Linked DNA regions of Homo sapiens: all the other regions are linked to region 1. The links are contacts of gene promoters, found by promoter capture Hi-C in blood cells and fetal thymus (Javierre and others, 2016). All regions are on one chromosome and are shown on one strand. The core of a region is centred on a gene start or on the middle of the fragment in contact, and the rest is flanking DNA. Distances in the headings are between cores, read along the strand shown.

Region 1 (2,951 bases), core at 221-2,720:
CACAAGAAAGACGGTGACTGGCAACAGCCTCACTGGAATACGTCTCTAATCATCAAGGCAACCCACACTCATTTGGATGTGTGCATCTGGTGATGTTATTATTTTTAAAGTTATGTGCCACAAAGATGCATTCTTTGCTATACAAAAGAGCTGTTGTTAAATTTATAAAGATATAAAAAGGGGAAAGGGGAAGGCACCAAATGGAAGATTCTTAGGCATTAAGTGCTCAGACAGCATAGATCTTCATTAGATGACGTCAGGGAGAAGAGACACAGACTTTGCCATCTCAGGTAGAAGTATCAAAGTCATCAGCCTCCTAGTAAGACAGACCTGGGTTTGAAGCTCTGCACAGCCATTTCCTAGCTGGTCTGGGGAAAAATTACTTCTTGAAGCCTCAGTGTCTTTATTTGTAAAGTAAGTGGAATTATATTACCTTGTCAGGATGTTGTCAGAATTAGAAATAATTTAAAGAGGTCCAGCACGAGCAGGTCAATCAAGGGAAGATGTTAAAAATAACAACAGGTGAAATGTACTCCCAAAAGATAAAGTGGATACATAGATGAATCTTCCTCACACACAGAGTATAATAACCTCAGAAAAATATTGCCTAGAGTAAACATGCCTCCCAAGCCAACGTTCATCATCCAGGAATACGGAGAGGATGTTTGGGATATGGGGGGCATGAAATTTTACAATTGTAGGGCCCTTTAACAAGGGTAGACTTGCAAGTTGCACTGCCTTTCCTGCCCTCTCTGGCTACCTGTTCCAGCATCCAGAGTTTGTGAACCTGGGGCCCAAGGACAGCACCTGGCATGGGCAGGCCCACTTGGCGACTCTCTCAGGGCTGCTGCAGCTGTGTCAGTGTCCCCACAGGGAGGCTGACATCCAGCCATGACCATCGCATTAAGCCCAGCAGTCGGGCAGGGGAGCAACTGCTCAGAGGCACCTTTGACCCACTACTTTTTTCCCCTCCTGCTTTATCTGCCCAGAGCGAGGCTCTCTTTCTAATGTGTACAAGGCGTTCTACCTATGACTCGTGGTCCTGCCATAGAAATGCTTTTTTTTTTTTAACTGAATTAAGTTGCCAAGTTTGAAAAATCAGGAATTTCACATAAGCATCCCTATTTCTGTCTTCTTTTGAAAAACTGAATGTTCTTTCCACAGTGAGCCCACATTCCTTCCTGACGACCATCACCGTTCAGCTGGAGTAGAGAGGGCTCTGCTCGCTTCAGATCCGGACGCGCAGGTCCTCTGCAGGCCCCGCCCACCCGGCGTCACCTGCAGGTCCCGCCCACCCGGCGTCTGCAGGCCCCGCCCACCCGGCGTCACCTGCAGGCCCCGCCCACCCGGCGTCTGCAGGCCCCGCCCACCCGGCGTCACCTGCAGGCCCCGCCCACCCGGCGTCTGCAGGCCCCGCCCACCCGGCGTCACCTGCAGGCCCCGCCCACCCGGCGTCTGCAGGCCCCGCCCACCCTGCGTCACCTGCAGGCCCGGGCCGCGGGGTTGGTTTCCACCCTGGAGGTTGCTGACACCCTGTGCCCTCGGCTGACTTCCAGCCGGTGGCACAGACGCCTCCAGGGGGCAGCACTCAAGCGCATCTTAGGAATGACAGGTGAGAACATCCTCCGGGCCCCAGATTTCTCTCCTCGCCGCTCTTGCCCATTTCTCCGGAGAGCCAGAGAAAGCCGCTCCCAAGTCCAAGGCCGAGCTCCGCAGACGCCCGGCCCCTCCGGCGCGGACAGAACAAAGCCACTGTTCTTGCCGGGGAAGGTAGAAATACTGTGGGCTGCTTCAGAGGCTGCCAGCAAAACTCAGGCAATCTCCTGGGCTGTTCCAATACGTTTATTCTCTTTTTCAAAACAGGAGGAGGAGGTAGAGGCGGGGAGACACACCATCCCTGCAAAACTACTGGCAAAAACTAAGCGGAGCCGGGTGTGGTGGCTCACGCCTGTAATCTCAACACTTTGGGAGGCCGAGGGGGGCCGATCACTTGAGGTCAGGAGTTGGAGGCCAGCCTGGCCGGCATGGTGAAACACAAAAATTAGTCGATTGTGGTGGTGCATGCTTGTAATCCCATCTACTTGGGAGGCTGAGGCAGGAGAATCGCTTGAACCCGGGAGGCGGAGGTTGCAGTGAGCCGAGATTGCGCCACTGCACTCCAGCCTGGACAACACAGTGAGATTCTGTCTCAAAATAAATAAATAAATAAACCCAAGCAGAAAAAGAATCACTCTGAAAACGATCACATCTAACTATCAATGCTCATACAGTTTATGGAATTATCAGCCCAACTTGATAAAATCAGTATTTGAGGAAACTGTGGATAAGCCCCCTGATTTCAATCCCCATTGTGCCAGGTCCTGGTTAACTGAGGTTAACGAAGTAAAGAGCTGCAGACACTATTAACTGCTACCTTAAACCGATTACTCTAGCTTAGCCTACTTTCCACGTACAGATTTTACCAGTGGACAACATGATGCTTTATCTTGTTTTTCTCTCCCTGGGACTTTTCTCCAGACATTGAAAACAGAAATACTAATAAGGCCACTTTTACCTGCCTGATGCAAGAACAGAATTTTCAAACTCAACATTAATGCAACTCCTCAGTCCCTGACAATGGCGGGTGGAAAAGTTTCTAAAAATATGCAGCAGCACAATTATCGGGAAGAGATGAGATACTGTTACCTAATAAAAATGCCATAAATAGAGAATGATGAACTACCATGGGAAATGAATGCATAGAAGAGGACATGCTGGAATGTGGGACAGTAAAAATCACTTAAACTTTGCGTGACCTTGAAGAAAGTCACGATGATCTGTTTTTCCAGGTCCCTCAAACAGTGAGATGTGGCTGTTTCCCAAGTCTTCCTCTCCAGTGTAAAGGGTCTGAATTTAGACGCTTTGTGAGTCTTCCTTCTTTCGACAGCCTGGAGTCTCTCTTGAGTCTCAAG
Region 2 (2,951 bases), core at 291-2,790, 240 kb before region 1:
ACCTCAGATGATCTGCCCACCTTGGCCTCCCAAAGTGCTAGGATTACAGGAATGAGGGATTTATTTAAATAAGTAGCAATCTGCCGGCTGAGCTACAGGGCAAGCAAACACGTGTTTCCCAACCAACCCAGGGAAGCCTGAGCATTGGCAGTGAGTATGACATTTCGCTGAGTAATTATTATTTTTAAAATTACTACATAGACAGAGAGATGCAGTTCTAATAATCTGTACCTTAGGGTTGCTTCATAGGTACACATACTCCTAAATCCCTGGAAACTCTCAAGAATAAAATGTTGCATATGTGTTTTTAGCAAAGCTAATTTTTAAGAACTAAAATACAGAATGTTTACAGGTTTAGGTTCAGTTTTGATCCTCAAATCAAAACATATGCCTCGGTCTGTCCTCAAACCACATGCAGGATCTCAAGTCCTGCCCTTCTTTCCTGGAAGCCAAAGAAACCTTCAAATATGCTGACAGTCAGTCATTTTCTACCCTTTCTACTTTTTCTTCCATTTTAGTTTTGAAAAACAGAGAACTGTCATGGACAGATAACTCAGGTTTGTGTAGAATAAATACAAAAGGGATAAATACATTCATTAAAAAAAAGAACAAAAAAAATCTGTCGACGTTTTCTTCTGTGCAGCAAAAGGAAACTATTTTCCCTGCCCACAAGTGCTAATGAACAGTTTACATGCACTGGGGGGTGTGTGTCTTTGTTTAACAATAGGATCTGGTATAAAGCTGGAAATGTTAGGATTGCAATGCTGGAACCTGCTACTGCATAAAAATACCAGACTGGTGGAGATCCAGAACTTACCCTTGCTGTAACAGCACACAGCACTTTCATTGACTTTTATTCTGAATTTATTAGCACCAATTCTCAATCAGGAATACAGTCGCAGAGCCATCCTGTATTACCCTGGAAATTCCCAGTCTATAGACATAGACCTCAGTTTGCAGACCATTCTCACATGAGAAAAATGAGCAGGATACACAGAAGGGTGACCAGCAGTCTGGTTTCTCATAGGCTCTCCTGTATTGGGAATTGTTTCTTAAGGTAGAATTTTTCTACAGAATATTGGTGTTTCAGGTATTATACCTGAAGATCTGTCCCTCTTCAAGTATCCAAAGTATAATTCTCTAGGATACTCTGACAATAAAACCTTTTTTATAAAAGCACTTCGGTATCATCCCTTGGCCTGGGCCACTAACTTCTTCTTCCCTCGTCTTGACTCCACTTCTCCTTGAAGGTCCGCTCCACACCTCACTACCCCATTGTACTCAGCCACACCTACAAGTTGATTCCACTGCACACCAACTCGATCTTTATTTGAATGATAATAATAATAGCCTCTATTTATCGAGTGCCTGCTCTTTGCCGGATGCACTACACCATCACTGCAGTTAATCCTTCCAACTGCTGTTTTGTAGATGAAGAGATTGAGGCTCACAGATGTTCAGTAACTTGCTAAAAAGTCACACAGCTTGTCAGTGACTATGTGGGATACCAGGCTGGAAGGTTTAACTCCAAAATCCATGCTCTTTCTATGACTCCGTATCACCTCTCTTTTGGTATTTCTTTTTCCTAAATCTGGTTTCCTCCAATAAAGAATCCCTTAAGGGGAAGAATTATTTCTGTTTATATTCTCTTTAAAGTTAACATCACCAGACATTTACCAAGTATCTGCCATGTAGGTGGCATAGTGCTAGACATTGAGGATTCAAGAGACACAGGCCATGGTCTCGGCCCTGAGGACAGAGCACAGAGCTCCTAGCTGGTGCTCACACGTTTTTGTACCAGACTGATCATGGCACTGTGGGATAAATACTTCCTCTCTCTGGGACCTGGGGCTTCCCAGTAACATTAGTTACACTCCTCTGGAATTTAATAAAGGCATTTCTACCTTGAACACCATTTTAGGTTTCCTTACAGAAATACAGAAAATCTGATTGTAGGGTGTTATCCTGGATCCTAAAGCGCTCTCCAGTGTGATTTGATGTGTATTTTGAAAGCCTAAATAGTAATCCAGTTGTAAACTGCTACACTGACCCAGCTTAGCAGCAAAGTAGACTACCAGTGACTAGGAATGTTGAATTAAAGGAGATCCTTATTGAGAAAGATTCAGATTTCTGTCTTTTTTCTTTTTCCTAATTACCTTTAGAAGGTTGCCTGTTGGAAAGGATAATGGAGTAGGATTTTCCTGTTCAGGAAATATTCTGGAAGAAACATGACACATTGAACTTAAGAGATGACTCCTGCTATGGAAGCTCTGTTGACTAATGATAAAAAGCCCGGGGCAGAGGATGTACCAAGCTCAACTGTCCAAGAACATGTTTTCTGCAAAGTGGCTGATACGCCTCACAGTCACGACCACTGCACAGACCCTGTCTGGGTGACTGAGCGATTCTCTGGCTTCTTCAGCAAATTCTCTTGATGGAAGCTCATTGTATTCTAACTTGTGGCTATGTAAGTGACATGAAAGAAGAAAAGAACAATTTTGAGCAAAACAGTATGAAGTTGCCTTTGCCAGCTCTGATAAATAAAAGTTTTTACTCCTTTCCTTTCGATTTCTCCTTCAGAGGAATGCCTTATTGTGTTTCTTTCATTGAATATTCTTTTCTTTCTTTCTTTTGTAACGGAGAGAGTTTCTCTAGACTTCAAAGGGGGAATGTGTGAAGGGAGAACTGGGTTTTATCTTTCTGCCTCTTACAACATTGGGTCACTAGAATCTTACCAGCAAGAAAGAGGAGTCACTGTGTGAGTAAAGAGAAAGCACATCTGGAAAATATCAACATTTTAGTTCATTAATGGTGTGTTTGGAAAGCAAAAGTGCATGTTGTATTATCTTTTTTTTGGTCAGTGGAGGCCTGAAGGAGGGGGGCACTGAAGGAAAGAAAAGAGGGGCAAGACATCATCTCGTTTCCCCTTGTACTTGCTCCCCATTATCTCT
Region 3 (2,951 bases), core at 205-2,704, 230 kb after region 1:
GATCTGCCCACCTCAGCCTCCCAAAGTGCTGGGATTACAGGCGTGAGCCACGATGCCGGGCCTCAACCATTTGTTTTTACTCTATTCAGACATGAATGATGAAATGTTACAGAATCCTTATTTCTTCATTCTCCGTTGCTTTTTGGAAATTTTCTCGGGTGAACATTACCTTCTACAGAGTAACAGAACCAGTAGGATGTAATATACATAGAAAGACACTTATGAGAAGGAATTGGTTCACATGATTATGGCAGCTGAGAAGTCCCAGCATCTGTAGGGTGAGTCAACAGCTATAGACCCAGGAGAGCAGGTAGGGTAGGTCCAGGCAGAGTTTGAAGGCCTGAAAACCAGGAAGCCAATGAAGTCAGGGAAAAAGCCAGTGTCTCACACTGAAGGCAGTCGGGAAGATTTCTTTCTTTCTTTCTTTTTCTTTCTTTCTTTCTTTCTTTCTCTTTCTTTCTTTCTTTCTTTCTTTCGTCTCTCTCTCTCTCTTTCTGTCTCTTTCTTTTCTTTCCTTCCTTCCTTCCCTCCCTCCCTCCCTCCTTCCTTCCTTCCTTCCTTCTCTCTCTCTCTCTCTCTGTCTCCCTCTTTTTTTTTTTTTTTTGACTCGTTTTTTCACCCAGGCTTGAGTGCAGTTGCCTGACCTCACTGCAACCTCTGCCTCCCGGGTTCAAGCAAGTCTCCTGCCTCAGACTCCCGAGTAGCTGAGATTACCAGCACGTGCCACCACCCCTGGCTAATTTTGTGTTTTTGGTAGAGATGGGGTTTCACCATGTTGGCCACGCTGGTCTTGAAATCCTGACCTCAGGTGATCTGCCCACCTTGGCCTCCCAAAGTGCTGGGATTACAGGCGTGAGTCACCGCACCTGGCTAATAGGAAATATTAATGCATTTAATAAATACGGCATACCACTACTACTTCTTTGATTTTATCAGATAAATAGTCTTTCCAAATATTGAGTTGTGATACTCCTGCATTGCAGAAACCATTCACTTACATTTCTGTTTTCTCTTTTTTTTGAGGCAGGGTCTCTGTCATCCAGGCTGGAGTGCAGTGGTGTGATCTCGACTCACTGCAGCCTCGACCTCCCAGGCTCAAGCAATCTTCTCACCTCAGCCTCCTGAACAGCTGGAACTACAGGCGCGTGCCACCATGCCTGGCTAATTTTTATATATATATATATACGTATATATATATATATATATATGTATATATATACATATATATATGGATATATATGTGTGTGTGTGTATATATATATATATATATTTTTTTTTTTTTTTTTTTTTTTGTAGAGGAGTGGTTTCTCCATGTTGCCCAGGCTGGTCTTAGACTCCTGGGCTCAAGTGATCTTCAGGCCTTGGCCTCCCAAAGTGTTGGGATTACAGGCATGAGCCACCACGCCCAGCCTCATTTACATTCCTGTCTTCAATTCCTAGTATAGTGCCTGGTATGTAGTAAGCATGTGATAAAAATTTTAAGAATATTTAGGGCCGGGCGCGGTGGCTCACGCCTGTAGTCCCAGCACTTTGGGAGGCCGAGGCGGGTGGATCATGAGGTCAGGAGATCGAGACCATCCTGGCTAACACGGTGAAACCCCGTCTCTACTAAAAATACAAAAAATTAGCCGGGCGCGATGGCGGGCGCCTGTAGTCCCAGCTACTGGGGAGGCTGAGGCAGGAGAATGGCGTGAACCCGGGAGGCGGAGCTTGCAGTGAGCCGAGATTGCGCCACTGCAGTCCGCAGTCCGGCCTGGGCGACAGAGCGAGACTCCGTCTCAAAAAAAAAAAAAAAAAAAAAAAAAGAATATTTAGTATTGTTGTCTCTGAGAAAAACATAAGTTATGTATCTAAATTCTGTAGCCCTATAAGAAAATCTGTGTGTGTGTGTATATATATATTATATATATATATATATTTTTTTTTTTTTTGAGACGAAGTCTGGCTCTGTTGCCCAGGCTGGAATGCAATGGCGTGATCTAGGCTCACCGCAACCTCCACCTCCCGGCTTCAAGCGATTCTCCTGTCTCAGACTCCCGAGTAGCTGGTATTACAGGCATGCACCACCACGCCTGACTAATTTGGTGTTTTTAGTAGAGATGGGGTTTCTCCATGTTGATCAGGCTGATCTCGAACTCCTGATCCCAGGTGATCCACCCGCCTCAGCCTCCCAAAGTGCTGGGATTACAGACATCAGCCACCACGCCTGGCCGAAAATCTGTATATTTTTAATATACAAAGTTTAAGAACAACTAAGTTTTATTTATGCAAAAATGTTTATTTGATTTGAAATGAAACTTTGGAGAAGTTATAATAGCAGAAGTCAAATGTCTTCTTTTCCTTTGTGTTTCTTAATTATGTTGCCTTTTTAACCTTTCATTCTAAAATAGTTTCTATGAACAACTAAACAAGACATGATGGTTGACTCAATCAATAAAATATACAGTATGTTTGCATCATGACATATTTAGATTTCAGTGGCACAAATATAATATTACGTTATGCCAAATAATACTTTATATTTTTCAAATTATTTTATTATCACATTTGATCCGTATAACAATCTTAAAAGATGAATAGGTAGATGTCACTACCCCCATTTTACAGGCGAGGAAACTGAGGAATGAGAAATGCAAACCAGTATGCCAGTCACCAAGTGTCAGATTAATTACTGAGCTAGAGGCCAAACGAGGTGGCTCAAGCCTGTACTTGCAGCACTTTGGGAGGCCGAGGCAGGCGGACTGCTTGAGCTCAAGAGTTTGAGACCAGCTTGGGCAAGAAAAAGAATTAGCAGGGTGTGGTGGTACATGACTGTAGTCCCAGCTGCTTGGGAGGCTGAGGTGAGAGGCTCGCGTGAGCCCGAGAGGTTGAAGCTGCAGTGAGCTGTGATTCTACCACTGCACTCCAGCCTGGGTGACAGAGCAAGACCCTGTCTCAAGGTGATGAAATGA
Region 4 (2,951 bases), core at 283-2,782, 220 kb before region 1:
AGTGTCATGATGACTCAGGAAGAGGGGATCCACATGTAGTCCCATATTCCAGCAGAAGAGTGCTTCTGGACAAATGTGTTAAACCTTCCCCCCATCTTCAAAGGAAACAGAGACTACAGCTCTGTGGCAAAAGGCAATGAATCCCTCTGAGGGATGTGTGTATTCTAGTTAGAGAGTAACACAGACTACAGCTGCCTGTGACCAGGACAAAACTCTGATGGTAGCCATGGTGAACTGGAACACAAGCTCATCTGTGATAAGAGCCTCTTAGTTTTCCTCTTATTCAATTTCCATCTTGATGAAAAATGGGAAATTTGTATGCAATTGAGGAACAAATACACAGATTTCTGTGTCATAATCTTATTGCTGATTTTGTATTTTGTCTACTTATCCAATGTAAGCTCATCCTATTTGATCACGTCTCTGACAGTCATACGGTTATCCTTTTTTCCTCCACAGTGACCGCTGGAAAGGGAACACCTTGCAACTTCTCCCACGAGGCTTTCGATCCTAATGTAAGGAGCAGACCTCTCCCGTCAGAAGTACATGGTGGGGAAAAAGGGCCATGTGGACACATGGAAACGGATTCGGGCAGGACCAGAACTATTTCCTTAGCCACACAGATGAAGGGTTTGTACTAATTCCTCAGTGAGGAGGAACTGGAACCTGATATCAAAATCCACTGTATGTCCTTTATAGTTTATTGTATATAATTATGTACCATAAACTGTGCATGGCTTACATTCCAGGGCATGGGATCAGTCATTCCTAACAAATCTCGTTGTCAATTTCTGTAAGTCCCAGCTAAGAATCCCCGTAAGGGCTTATCTGAACCGGGTAGAATCAAATATTGTGATAGAACCCCAGGGCCTGGGAGAAGCAGCAGCCCCCCACCTCCCCCCAAGAATTCTGTCTGGTATGCTTCGTGGTACATCTGCAGGTGAGCATTGACTCACAGATATACTTGGTGCACACCCTGTGTCCAGTACCGAATGATGCCAATATGAGCCAATGGGACTTGAGGAACATGTAATTCTATTCACTGTACTCTGCTGTGAAGACGCTACAACCTCCCTGTTAAGTCATGCTCTTTGCTCATTTCTGAGCTTGGGCCTCCTCTTGCATGCAGGCCCTGTTCCACAAATGACTCCAGGGGATAAGGGGCTTCCAAACACCTAAGTCCTAGGGTGTTGCTTTAAGCCACTTGGCTCTTGTGCATGTCTGTAAACCATTGCTAGAATTGGAGGTATTTCAAAGGCAGCGAGCGGCATATGAGAATAAATGATCTAATACAGAGAGTGAATTCCTGATGATTTAAAGCCATTGAGAAAAGCGGCAAACAGAGCTTGGGAGACAGTACACCTCGATGTCCTCAAAAACACATCCCTTAATTTCTAAGAGACCATAATTTATCTTTCTATACTGATAACACCATATTTGTCAAATACAGATATTATGGACTTTTAATATTAGGGAATTAAAAGATCCTTTTAAACTCTGTTTTGAAATACATACATTTTTTCACGTTTGCACATACAGTAACACACCAGCCAGTGTTGAAAGTATGACCTGCAATTGCAATCAAGCCATTCAAGCCATTCAAAGAACAAGCCACATGGAAACTATGACCTCGCCCCTGAAAATCACCCACAGGCATATGTTTGGGCATGATTTCAGGAGATCCATGGGCTCTAGAAACCACCTGTAGGCCTGAGGCTCGGAACTTGTGATACCTGGCCTCCCATAGGAAGTATGAGGATATCCTAATTTTTCCCACCAGAATTTGTATAGACTAGCAAGTTTTGGGGCGGCTTGTTATACTAATAGGCTTCATAGTCTCCACTGAGGGGGCAATTCTGTTTATAAACATTTCCCTCACCCTTCTTCCCCATTCATTCTTGTGGTTTCCTGGCCCAAGCAATACTTATCTGTGAGCCACTGGCCCCAATAACTAACTCAAGACAGCAACACGTTATGCATGGTGAGTTCAGACCGCAGCTGTCTATGTAGCCAGTTAAGTAGCATCATCAAGACGATCCAGTGCAGAGCAGTGGCAAAGGACAGAACCACCCAAAAGGAGGGAGGAGGCTGGACACAGATACATGGGAAGTTGGGGAAAGTTCATCTGTTGTTAAAATCAACAAGTACAATGTCGACAGTGGAGGCCCAGATGTCCCATTAAGAAGTGTCCTACTTAGTCTGGAAAAGTTGGCAACTGTTCTCATGGGAACCAGCAGCAGGAGCAGCAGCTGCAGTGCACAAATAGAAGTGTCCTTCCTCACACCTAGTTTCATCTGGGTCAAGTCCCTCCTCTGCTCAAGCTCTTCTGGGAGCTTCTCCTCTCCTGAGAGAAAGAGCTGAGGTTCATGAGGCCCTACACTGTCTGCCTCCAAAGCTGCCTGCCTTGCTGTTTCGACTCCAGCCATGCTGGCCTCCTCACCAGGCCTCGAACACACCAGGCCTGCCACCACAAGGCCTTTGCATGGGCCGTTTCCTCTGCCTAGGACACTCTCCTGTGGGTACCCTCATGGCTTTCTCCCTTTTTTCGGGTTTTTACTTAAAAACATCATCTTCTCAGAGAGGCCTTCCCTGACCATTCTTTTGAAAAATGCAATCCTCCTCCCCCATGCCTCCATCTCCCTTTCTTGTTTATTTTATGTATTTATTTAGCTATGGAGTCTCATTATGTTGCCCAGGCTGGAGTGCAGTGGCTATTCCTAGGTGCACTCATAGCTCACTGCAGCCTCAAACTCCTGGGCTCAAGCGAGCCTCCCACCTCAGCCTCCTGAGTAGGTAGGACCACAGGCGTGCACGACCACACTTAGCTCTGTTTATTTTTCTTCATAGCACTTATCACCATTTCATTTACTTATGTATTTTACTTATCTGTTGGCCTCCCTAACAAGAATGTGAGTTCCATGCAGGCAGAGATCTTTGTTGGTTGAACTGCC
Region 5 (2,951 bases), core at 304-2,803, 210 kb before region 1:
TTCTAATTTTTGTTCTAATCTAAGGCTAAAGATAAGGTTCTGATGGAATTTTTTCTTTAATATTAAAGCATAAATAAACAAAACACAAAGCATTGAGCAAACACACTGAGACTTATTTCACAGTGCCATCTCAACCGAGGCAGTTCCCAGGACCTAGAAGTGCTTTGCCCAGCAGGGGGCTAGGTCCCCACCAATCACAGCTGCACTTCCCAAGAACAGGCCTCAGGTGTTCCTAAAACCTGGGAAGGGAGGCCATCGTGCTGCCCAAATGTTGATTTGCTATAAAAGCAAAAAGATGGGCCATACCTCTCCTCCTTCGAGCTATTTCTGAAAAAGAGGCAGGATGACAAACTTGAGTTACACTCTTCCAAAGCAGAAACTACTGTCTGGGACTTAGCTTTCTGTTGTTGCTGTATGTTCCATTAAACCAGTTCAATGGGCTAAGGATCATTCAGCAAATAACTATTTCTGTGTTAAAAGATTAAAAAGATAACAGAGGGTCAGGCACAGTGGTTCATGCCTGTAATCCCAGCACTTTGGGAGGCAAGGTGGGCAGATCACCCGAGGTCGGGAGTTCGAGACCAGACTGGCCAACAGGGTAAAATCCATCTCTACTAAAAATACGAAAATTAGCCAGGCATGCCGGTGTGTGCCTGTAGTCCCAGCTACTCGGGAGGATGAGGCAGGAGAATTGCTTGAACCTGGGAGGGGGAGGTTGCAGTGAGCCGAGATTGTGTCACTGCACTCCAGCCTGGGCCACAAAGTGAGACTCCGTCTCCGAAAAAAAAAGAAGAAAAATGATAGCAGAGGCAACGGCTCCTTTGGTTTCTTTGGTGCATGCACTGTCATCCTCAAGAGTTAAGAAGGCCCTGTTTTCCTAATGTCCTTGTCACTGTTTAGCAGCAAGCACACGGGCACAGGGACACTCCTTGCCTGTGGGACAGACATCGTTCCCATAGCAGCAAACCCATGTCTGTCAGGAAGTAACCAGGCAGCAGCTGTGGGCAGCTGTGTGCCCATGGGGAACTGGTCCGCTCTTTTTTTCTATTACTTTTTTTACAAAAACCTGAATTTCCGGTTTTATTACAAAGCCATTTCTAAATGATGGGTTTTCTAAACCAAAGTCTCAGATTTGGCTGTCAGGGGGTCTTATTCCTATCGCCTTAACGTGAGGAGGGCTATTGGTGTGTAGCTTCCTGCATCTTGTAGACCCAGTCTCTGAAAACTCTCAATGCTTTGAGCCAAAAGAGACTCAGGAGATTACACATTCTCTTATTTTAGGAGTGTGTGCAGGTGCCAACTGGAATGCGGTGAGTGGTACTGTGTGTGCGCAAACAGAGAAGAGAACAGGAAAGAACATTTTACCCTCCACAATTTGGGGGTGGATTGCTTTTTGAAACCTTTGGCAAATAATTGCATCAAAGTGTCTCAGTTCTTCAGCGAATACACATGTGTTGTGGTACCAGGTCCACCTATGGTACTGAGGTCCGGAATCTCCTCCCTGACTATAAATTGGGGGTTTTTGTTGTTGTTGTTGTTTTGGTTCTATACTGAGCACCTATGGCTCTCTGGTTATAAGTACTCTTGTTGATTGGGAGGAGAATCCTGTCTTTTGGGACACTAGTTTATAATTTAGTGCACTGTGGCAGCAGAGCTATCAATGTCTGAATTTATCTCCCATCTTGGTATTTTCAGGGGGAACCAGAGAAAACAGTCTATATCCACCAATTCTCCACCACACACCAAGTTATTTTTTAGATGTTTAATGAAAATGTTGGCAGGAGGTGGCAATAGTTATTTTTACTTAAGTATAGCACTCAGAAAGGCAATCTTTAAAACCTAGAGTTCAAGTTTATCCTTATTATTTACAATGAGTAAGGACTTTTGGGAAGATCTGGCTATTGAATATCAACAGGTAAGATTATTTAAAGTTCCTACAATGATTGTGAAAATAATCTCGCATTCTGCTGAGAATATCCTCATCCACAATTCATACGTGGCATCATACTTTGCATGTTTGGTAAATAAAGGGTGGAAAGAACAAATCTTTGGATTGTCTCTACTAGCCAGTGTATACCTGGGGCCATTCATGGGATCCAGGAACCAGACTGTGCCTGTCTCTCCGTGAACAAAGAGCATCCTTGGAGCATTCTTGCCAATCAAATGGATGCTTTTTTCTAAGTTAACTGCAGAAAGCCTTCCCTACCTACAGTGTTTGTAATTTTTCAACTTGTGCTACTGTAGCTTGGTACCTGCTGGGCATGGCTATCATTACCTACAATTCACTACTCTTCTGGATAACTCGCCTGAACCTTGAAAGGTAAAAAATAACTGCACTAAAATCAAAAGACCTGGGTTACAATTCTGGTTTTGTCACCGAACATCCATGCTAACTTGATCAAGCCTTAGTTTTCCCATCTATAATGTGATAATCACACGACTCCTGTACAAGGTTTTTATGCAATTTAAATTACATACTGGATGGGAATATAGTTTATAAATTATACCATGTTATATAAATATGTAGGATTTGGTATTTGGCGAAACTTACACTCTCTTTTAGCCCCCATTTCAGATGCTATTTGGTGAAATGCCACACCCTTGTCCCAGCTTTCTGGACCCAGGTTTGTGCATCACACAATTACTTCAGCTACTAAGGAAAAAGGGCCAAATCTCAAAAGGTGCTTAGCCCACAGTTTTACTCCTAAAATGTGAGGGCCTTTTATGGGCCCACTTCCAGCCTAGAGTTCACAGCAAGACATGTGCTGTCAGGGCAGGAAACTTTACTTAACAACCTAGCCCTAATGCAGGCCGGTTTGAGCTGAGCCATTGGACTGCACTTAGTCCAGAATGACCGGTTACTTCTCTTCCATGACTAAACATCTTTGGAAAAGATTCTTTTCTTTGTTACATAACCCAATGTTCAGACTCCTTTGTTCTTGAGGTCTTCA
Region 6 (2,951 bases), core at 128-2,627, 190 kb before region 1:
TTACTTAATTTCTCTGAACTTCAGTTCTCACCTCTGTAAATCGGGGTTAATAATACCCTCCCTGTAGCATTCTTCTGAGGATTAAGTGAAATTAAGCATAAAGTGCCAAGCACATGGTAGACACTTTTCCTTTCACATAAACCCTAGAAACAAATGTTTCCTGCAGGTGGTTTGGTATCCTTCTGCTTTGTTAAGTGGTGCAGCATGTTCATAAAATATTGAGCTTGAAAAACCAAGTCAACTAAAAATGAAAGTTCCAGGACTTCCACTTGTAGAAGATGAAGTGGACACACTTTTCCCCACTTCTCCTGCCAAGTATAACTAAAATCCTGACATCAGATAGGAAACAAACATAAGAAGACTGTGAAAGGTGGAGTAAAGGAAGCCTGGCTAGAGATCTCAGAACTCACAGAACAACACATGGCTGAGTTGTTCTTCTTTTTTTTTTTTTTAAGACGGAGTCCGCTCTTGTTGCCCAGGCTGAAGTGCAGTGGCATGATCTCAGCTCAATGCAACCTCCACCTCCTGGGTTCAAGTGATTCCCCTGCCTCAGCCACCCGAGTAGCTGGGATTACAGGCATGCTGTATTTTTGTATTTTTAGTAGAGACGGCGTTTCACCATGTTGCCCAGGCTGGTCTCGAACTCCTGACCTCAGGTGATCTGCCCGCCTTGGCCTCCCAAAGTGCTGGGATTACAGGCGTGAGCCATCACACCAGGCAATTATTTCTATCCTAGACTTATAGTGAAGAAGACAACAACCTGGAAATGCCAAAGAGCACAGACAAAAAAAAAATATCCGAAAAAAGCTCATCTCTTCAGGAATGAAGCAGCCTAGCAAAATAGAAAACTTTTCAATAATAAATGCTCAACACCAGCCAAAAACCACAGAATCCCCACCTCCACCCATGCCAGCAAAGCCTGGGTGGGGAACCCAGACTCTCCTCACCTGTTGGGCTGTACCCCACTGGGGTGGGGTAAGAGAATGCTTAGTAGAGTGACTGGATTTTTACTACTGCCTACCCATAATGGAGCCACCCCTACTGCGCTATCAAAAGAACCACACGGAGAGCTGGAATTTCTATCCCTTCCCACCAATAATGCTTAATAATTAGCAATAATAATGATGATACCACTCAGGTATCAATGGAGATCCAGTAGAAACCTGGACTTCTGCATCCACCTAAGCAGTAATGAGGTGATGCCTACCCGTCCCTTGCTGAAGTCCTGCCAGAGAAAGCCAGCTTAAAACAAAAGGTTTTGATGTGATTCAGAGTCTAGTAACATAATACTAAAATATCCTGGTTTCAGCTGAAATCACTTGTCATATCAAGAGACAGGAAGATCTTAAATGCAATGAAAAATGACAATCAATAGATGCCAAGACTGAGATGATAGAGATTTTAGGATTACCTGACAAAGATTAAAAAGCAGCCATGATAAATCACTTCAATGAGCAATTATTAATATGTTTCAAACAAAGAGAAAAAAAAGCCTTGGAAAAGAAACTGACTATCTCAGAGAAGAAATAGATGACCTAAAGAAGAACCAGATGAAAATTTAGAACTAAAAAATAAATAACCAAAGTTATTTATCAATCAAACTCATTGGAACAGAGCAGGCTGAGCACAGTGGCTCACGCCTGTAATTCCAGCACTCTGGGAAACCAAGATGGGTGGATCGCTTGAGCCCAGACATCTGAGACATGCCTGGGAAACATGGTGAAACCTCATCTCTACAAAAAAATACAAAGATTAGCCAGGCGTAGTGGCATGCACCTGTAGTTCCTGGGCAAAAAAGTGAAATCCTGTCTCAAAAACCAGAAACAAACAAAAAACAAAAACAAAGAACAGAGAAAATAGGGAGAGAATCAGTGAACTGGAAAACAAAACAGTAAAAATGACCAATCTGAATAACAGAGCGAATATAGATTGAAAAGCAAATAACAGAGCCTCAGGGATTTGTGGACTATAACAAAAAATCTAACATTTATGTCATAAGTGTCCTAGAAGGAGAGGAGAAAGGAGGAGCAGATAGAAAAGTAATAGAAGAAAAAATGGCTGAACACTTCCCAAATTTGGCAAGAGAAATGAACCTACATATTCAGATGATGAGTGAATTCCAAACAGGATAAAGCCAAAAAAATACACATCAAGACACATCCTAATTAAACTTCCAAAAACAAAGGACAAAGAAAACATTTTAAAAGCAGCAAGATAAAAAAACACCTTACTTATATTGGAAAGACAATTTGAATGATGGTGATTTTATCATCAGAAAATATGGAAGCCAGAAGGAAGAGGTGAGAGAGTTTTCAAGTGCTGAAAGAAAAAAACTGATAACCCAGAGTCCTATATCCAGCAAAAATATCCTTCAGAAATGAAAGGGGAAAGGAAGACATTCTCAGAGGAAGGAAAACTAAGTGATATCTCCAACAGTCCTAATCTGAAAAATTAGCTAAAGAAAGTGCTCTAAACAGAAAAAAAAAAAAGAAAGAAAGAAAACAAAACCTTCAATATTAGGAAGGAAGAACAAAGCAAACAAAAATATAGGTAAATGCAATAGCCTTTTCTCTTCCTCTTGAGTTTTCTAAATTATGCTTGATGATAAGGCAAAAATTATAAAACTGGTCTGGTTCTTAATGTATATAGGTAAATTTAAAGACAAACATATTATAAATGGAAAGGATAAAGGGAGGTAAAGTTTCCGTACTTCACTAGAACTAGCGAAATGACAATAGAGGTAGGCTTTGATAAGTTATGTAGACACATAATCCAGCACCTAAAGCAACCACTAAAAAAGTCATGCAAAGGGACTCACTAGAAACCACTATAGATATATCAAAACAAAATCCTAAAAATTGTTCAGATAACCCACTGGCAGGCAAAAAAATGAAAACAGAGCTATAAAAAACAGGTAACAATGACAAAAAATAAAAGAGCAGACCTAAGCC
Region 7 (2,951 bases), core at 300-2,799, 150 kb before region 1:
TGCCACTTCTGGAAATTCACCCACAGCTCTTGCCTGGCGTGCTGAGCAGAGGCCACCCAGTCGGGCTTTGCAAATAGAATTTGACTCCCATGCCAGACCAAGTGAAACAGATCCACCATACAGGCACTCCAGGAAAAACAGCAATCCATAACCTGTGTGTGCTGAGAATCTAGTACATTGCTCTTTATGAGCCACTGTAAAAAGCGGGATAGGATAATCCCAGTTTCTCCTTCTGTAAAATTCACCTCTCCACATATACTTGACAACATTACAGGGAGACACAGTTTCCAGAGCTTAGATACTTTGCTAATATGTAGTAAACATAAAGGTAAAACCATTAAATTGCAAGTCCTGTCCTCTCTGATTTTACTAAGCATAAAGCTATTGATCACTTTTTGTCCCCTACAGCAAGAATATATCAAGAATATAATCATATCAGGAGAAAAACTACAATCTTCATCTTTGGTAGCGGTCAATCACTTTCAGAATTCTTTTCAAAAACAGCCAGCAGTCAAATTAAATTGTAATTTGGGTTAGGGGTGGGATGGAGGAGAGAATCTGACTTTTGGGCACAGTGTGTGTGAAAATACGTATCCAAAAAGTTCAATGGGAAAATGTTGTCTCCCTGTGACTGAAAAAAAATAATTGTGCTGCTTTCAAATACCCAAGTGGTACCACAAAGTTTGTCTTTCTCTAAAGCCTGTCTGTATCAGTGCCTTTGTGTCTCTCTTGAAAATATCACTTTTTGTAGTAATCTTCTTTTTTAACCACTTTGTCATCATCGTGGGATAAACAGAGTAGACTTTCCAAAATGAATCAGGGTGGTTGGGGTTGAATAGATAAAACATGACTCTGGCAAACGAGCGTTCGCTAAAGTCTGATCCTGTAATCTTTGTGCTGGCAGAACACCACTGTAGTAAACTTGGTTTGGCAAACCCTGTATAAAAACAGGACCCTTGACTTAAGATACAGTGTAAACATGTTGACTTCCTAAAACCCTCAATGGGTATGTGGTGAAGGAAAGCTTAGACCCAGACTCTGTTATATAAAAACAAATTAACTTGAAATGTAATTTTTCTCTACTAAGGCTTTTCATAATATATGAGCAGCCCAACCCCCAAGCCCCTGCCAAACCCATCACAATTATTGTCCAAATTCCCGTGGAGTCCAAAGGGGAGGTGGTATTCAAAAGAAGTAACTGCTGGTGGACTTTGAATAAAATGAGAAGTCTGTGAGGCCAATTAGGTTGTCAGTGGACAAAAATAAGCATAAATTAGAGCAATTAAGTAAATGAAAATGATCAAAAGGAATTTGTGGCAAGAATTTTTTTGAACAGATCCTTTTCTATTATATAGGTACAAAGACCATTTTAAAGAGTTCAAAAGATTTTTAAATTTACTATACTGTACCCAAACCTCATGAAAATAAAGCATACGGAGGAATAAATTCTAGTTTCTTTTAAAAAGTTACTTCAGTTGAAGGAATATTGTACATTTGGTATACTCACAAATATTAAAAAGAATTGTTGGCTAGATACACAAAACAAGGTCATTTTTCTATTCCCAAAGAAATGACACCCAGCGGGGAAAGGGGAATAAATACTGTTTGCCAGAATTCATCTTTCATTGAAATCATACTGAAACCTATAAATTATAATAAAATATTATAATTAGAATGTTATAGTAAAATATAACAATAAAAGTGGACTTTAAGGTAGAATACATACCTTTTTAAAACAATGATTATATTTTGGGATAGAATATTATAGAAGACTTTTACTCTCTAAGTTACACATTTCTACAGATTGTTATAGTAAGTGTGTATGATTTCAGTAACCAGGAAAAAAAGAAGTATTAGGTAAAAAAATAACTCTAGTGTGAGAGGTTATCTTTGAGGCTAAGTTGAGAGGAAATCTGCTCCACTTACTGTTGTTTACACTCTAAACTAGTCGCTCTAAAATATAGTTTACACTCTAGTTGGCATCAAAAGTGCCAAAACTTGTTTTGAAGGAGACCTGCAACATAATGGAAACAAACTCTGCAAAGCTGTCAGTTGCTTCATAGGTCACTGTAATGAAGCTTCTGCAGCAAACTCTCTCTCAGGGACTCCCACACTGAACTGCTTTTACAGAAAGAGACTCACTAGGCAGCCACGGAGGTACGCCCTCAGTAAGCTATTCAGCAATAAGGGATGCCTAGCCAGCTGACAGCCTCCAGCACTGCCCCTCTCAATCTGCCACCGTGATTCCTGCCGAGGCCACACAGTCCGGGCGGAGTCTGCTTACAGCCAATGACTGATCATGGCAGGGACACGAGAGCCAGGTCACTTCTGCCCTCATGGGGCCCTTCTGACAGGCAATCTCTGCTCCCGGGCACCCATGTACCTGGCTGAGACTTTCTCAGAGCTGCACTGCAGTCTGAGATTCTTCATATCCAACTCTCCTTTTTACCTCCTCTCTTTTAAAAGGTGTTGGACCTGTGTCATCATAATTTTGTTACTGACAGTAATAACATTATTTAAAAAACAGCTTCCATTGGGATATTTCTTATCATTTTTAAACCTTTTCAGTTATATAATTTCATTTTGTCAGTAAATCATTTATTAGTAGAATATTTAGTGAAGAAATTAGGCATAGATTGCCTTCACTTGCATTAGTGGACATTTAAGTTACATGAAGGGAAAACACTGATACACAACAAAGTTACTGATGAAAACACAAGGACTTTCTTTTTTAAAACTCTCTCGGCTTCCATAACACCACACTCTTTTGGTTCTCCTTCCAGCTCTCGGAAAATGTCTTTTCCGCCTATTTCACTGGGTCATTGGTAAGGTTTGGGATCTGTGTCTCCGCCAAATCTCATGTCGATTTGTAATCCCCAATGTTGAGGGGGGGCCTGCTGGGAGGAGTGACTGGATCATAAGGGCAGAGCTCTCATGGATGGTTTAGCACT

What was found. The method cuts DNA at HindIII sites, captures the fragments that hold promoters and counts their contacts. A CHiCAGO score of 5 or more calls a contact.
Region 2: a fragment that was not itself captured here is called in contact with the fragment with the promoter of CLUL1 in region 1 in 4 of 17 cell types (M1 macrophages, M2 macrophages, monocytes and 1 more); the score reaches 9.1 in M1 macrophages.
Region 3: a fragment that was not itself captured here is called in contact with the fragment with the promoter of CLUL1 in region 1 in 6 of 17 cell types (naive CD4 T cells, naive CD8 T cells, activated CD4 T cells and 3 more); the score reaches 8.7 in naive CD4 T cells.
Region 4: a fragment that was not itself captured here is called in contact with the fragment with the promoter of CLUL1 in region 1 in 4 of 17 cell types (M2 macrophages, M0 macrophages, M1 macrophages and 1 more); the score reaches 8.8 in M2 macrophages.
Region 5: a fragment that was not itself captured here is called in contact with the fragment with the promoter of CLUL1 in region 1 in 3 of 17 cell types (M2 macrophages, M1 macrophages and M0 macrophages); the score reaches 8.4 in M2 macrophages.
Region 6: a contact is called between a fragment that was not itself captured here and the fragment with the promoter of CLUL1 in region 1, in 3 of 17 cell types (M2 macrophages, M1 macrophages and M0 macrophages). The highest score is 8.6, in M2 macrophages.
Region 7: a fragment that was not itself captured here is called in contact with the fragment with the promoter of CLUL1 in region 1 in 4 of 17 cell types (M0 macrophages, M2 macrophages, M1 macrophages and 1 more); the score reaches 7.7 in M0 macrophages.

The regions. Positions count from the first base shown.
Region 1 is chr18:595,518-598,468 of GRCh38, forward strand. CLUL1 (clusterin like 1) reads left to right here and starts at 1,471. Exons shown (of 10, transcript NM_001393344.1): 1 at 1,471-1,612. RefSeq lists silencers at 1,220-1,349, 1,410-1,529 and an enhancer at 1,952-2,451. The HindIII fragment of the contact is 7,229 bases long and covers 1-2,951 here.
Region 2 is chr18:351,909-354,859 of GRCh38, forward strand. The region is part of intron 3 of COLEC12 (collectin subfamily member 12); the gene reads right to left. Among named protein-coding and RNA genes, the nearest start is that of THOC1, 85 kb to the left of the region's middle. The HindIII fragment of the contact is 4,508 bases long and covers 1-2,951 here.
Region 3 is chr18:826,992-829,942 of GRCh38, forward strand. No RefSeq gene overlaps it. Among named protein-coding and RNA genes, the nearest start is that of YES1, 16 kb to the left of the region's middle. The HindIII fragment of the contact is 4,537 bases long and covers 1-2,951 here.
Region 4 is chr18:372,836-375,786 of GRCh38, forward strand. The region is part of intron 2 of COLEC12 (collectin subfamily member 12); the gene reads right to left. It overlaps LOC107985155 (a long non-coding RNA gene), which reads left to right. Exons shown (of 2, transcript XR_007066264.1): 1 at 1-2,951. Among named protein-coding and RNA genes, the nearest start is that of THOC1, 110 kb to the left of the region's middle. The HindIII fragment of the contact is 6,080 bases long and covers 1-2,951 here.
Region 5 is chr18:389,982-392,932 of GRCh38, forward strand. The region is part of intron 2 of COLEC12 (collectin subfamily member 12); the gene reads right to left. The region is part of intron 1 of LOC107985155 (a long non-coding RNA gene); the gene reads left to right. Among named protein-coding and RNA genes, the nearest start is that of COLEC12, 110 kb to the right of the region's middle. The HindIII fragment of the contact is 6,658 bases long and covers 1-2,951 here.
Region 6 is chr18:410,005-412,955 of GRCh38, forward strand. All of the region lies in intron 2 of COLEC12 (collectin subfamily member 12), which reads right to left. Among named protein-coding and RNA genes, the nearest start is that of COLEC12, 89 kb to the right of the region's middle. The HindIII fragment of the contact is 5,695 bases long and covers 1-2,951 here.
Region 7 is chr18:447,429-450,379 of GRCh38, forward strand. All of the region lies in intron 2 of COLEC12 (collectin subfamily member 12), which reads right to left. Among named protein-coding and RNA genes, the nearest start is that of COLEC12, 52 kb to the right of the region's middle. RefSeq lists a silencer at 1-15. The HindIII fragment of the contact is 1,054 bases long and covers 1,023-2,076 here.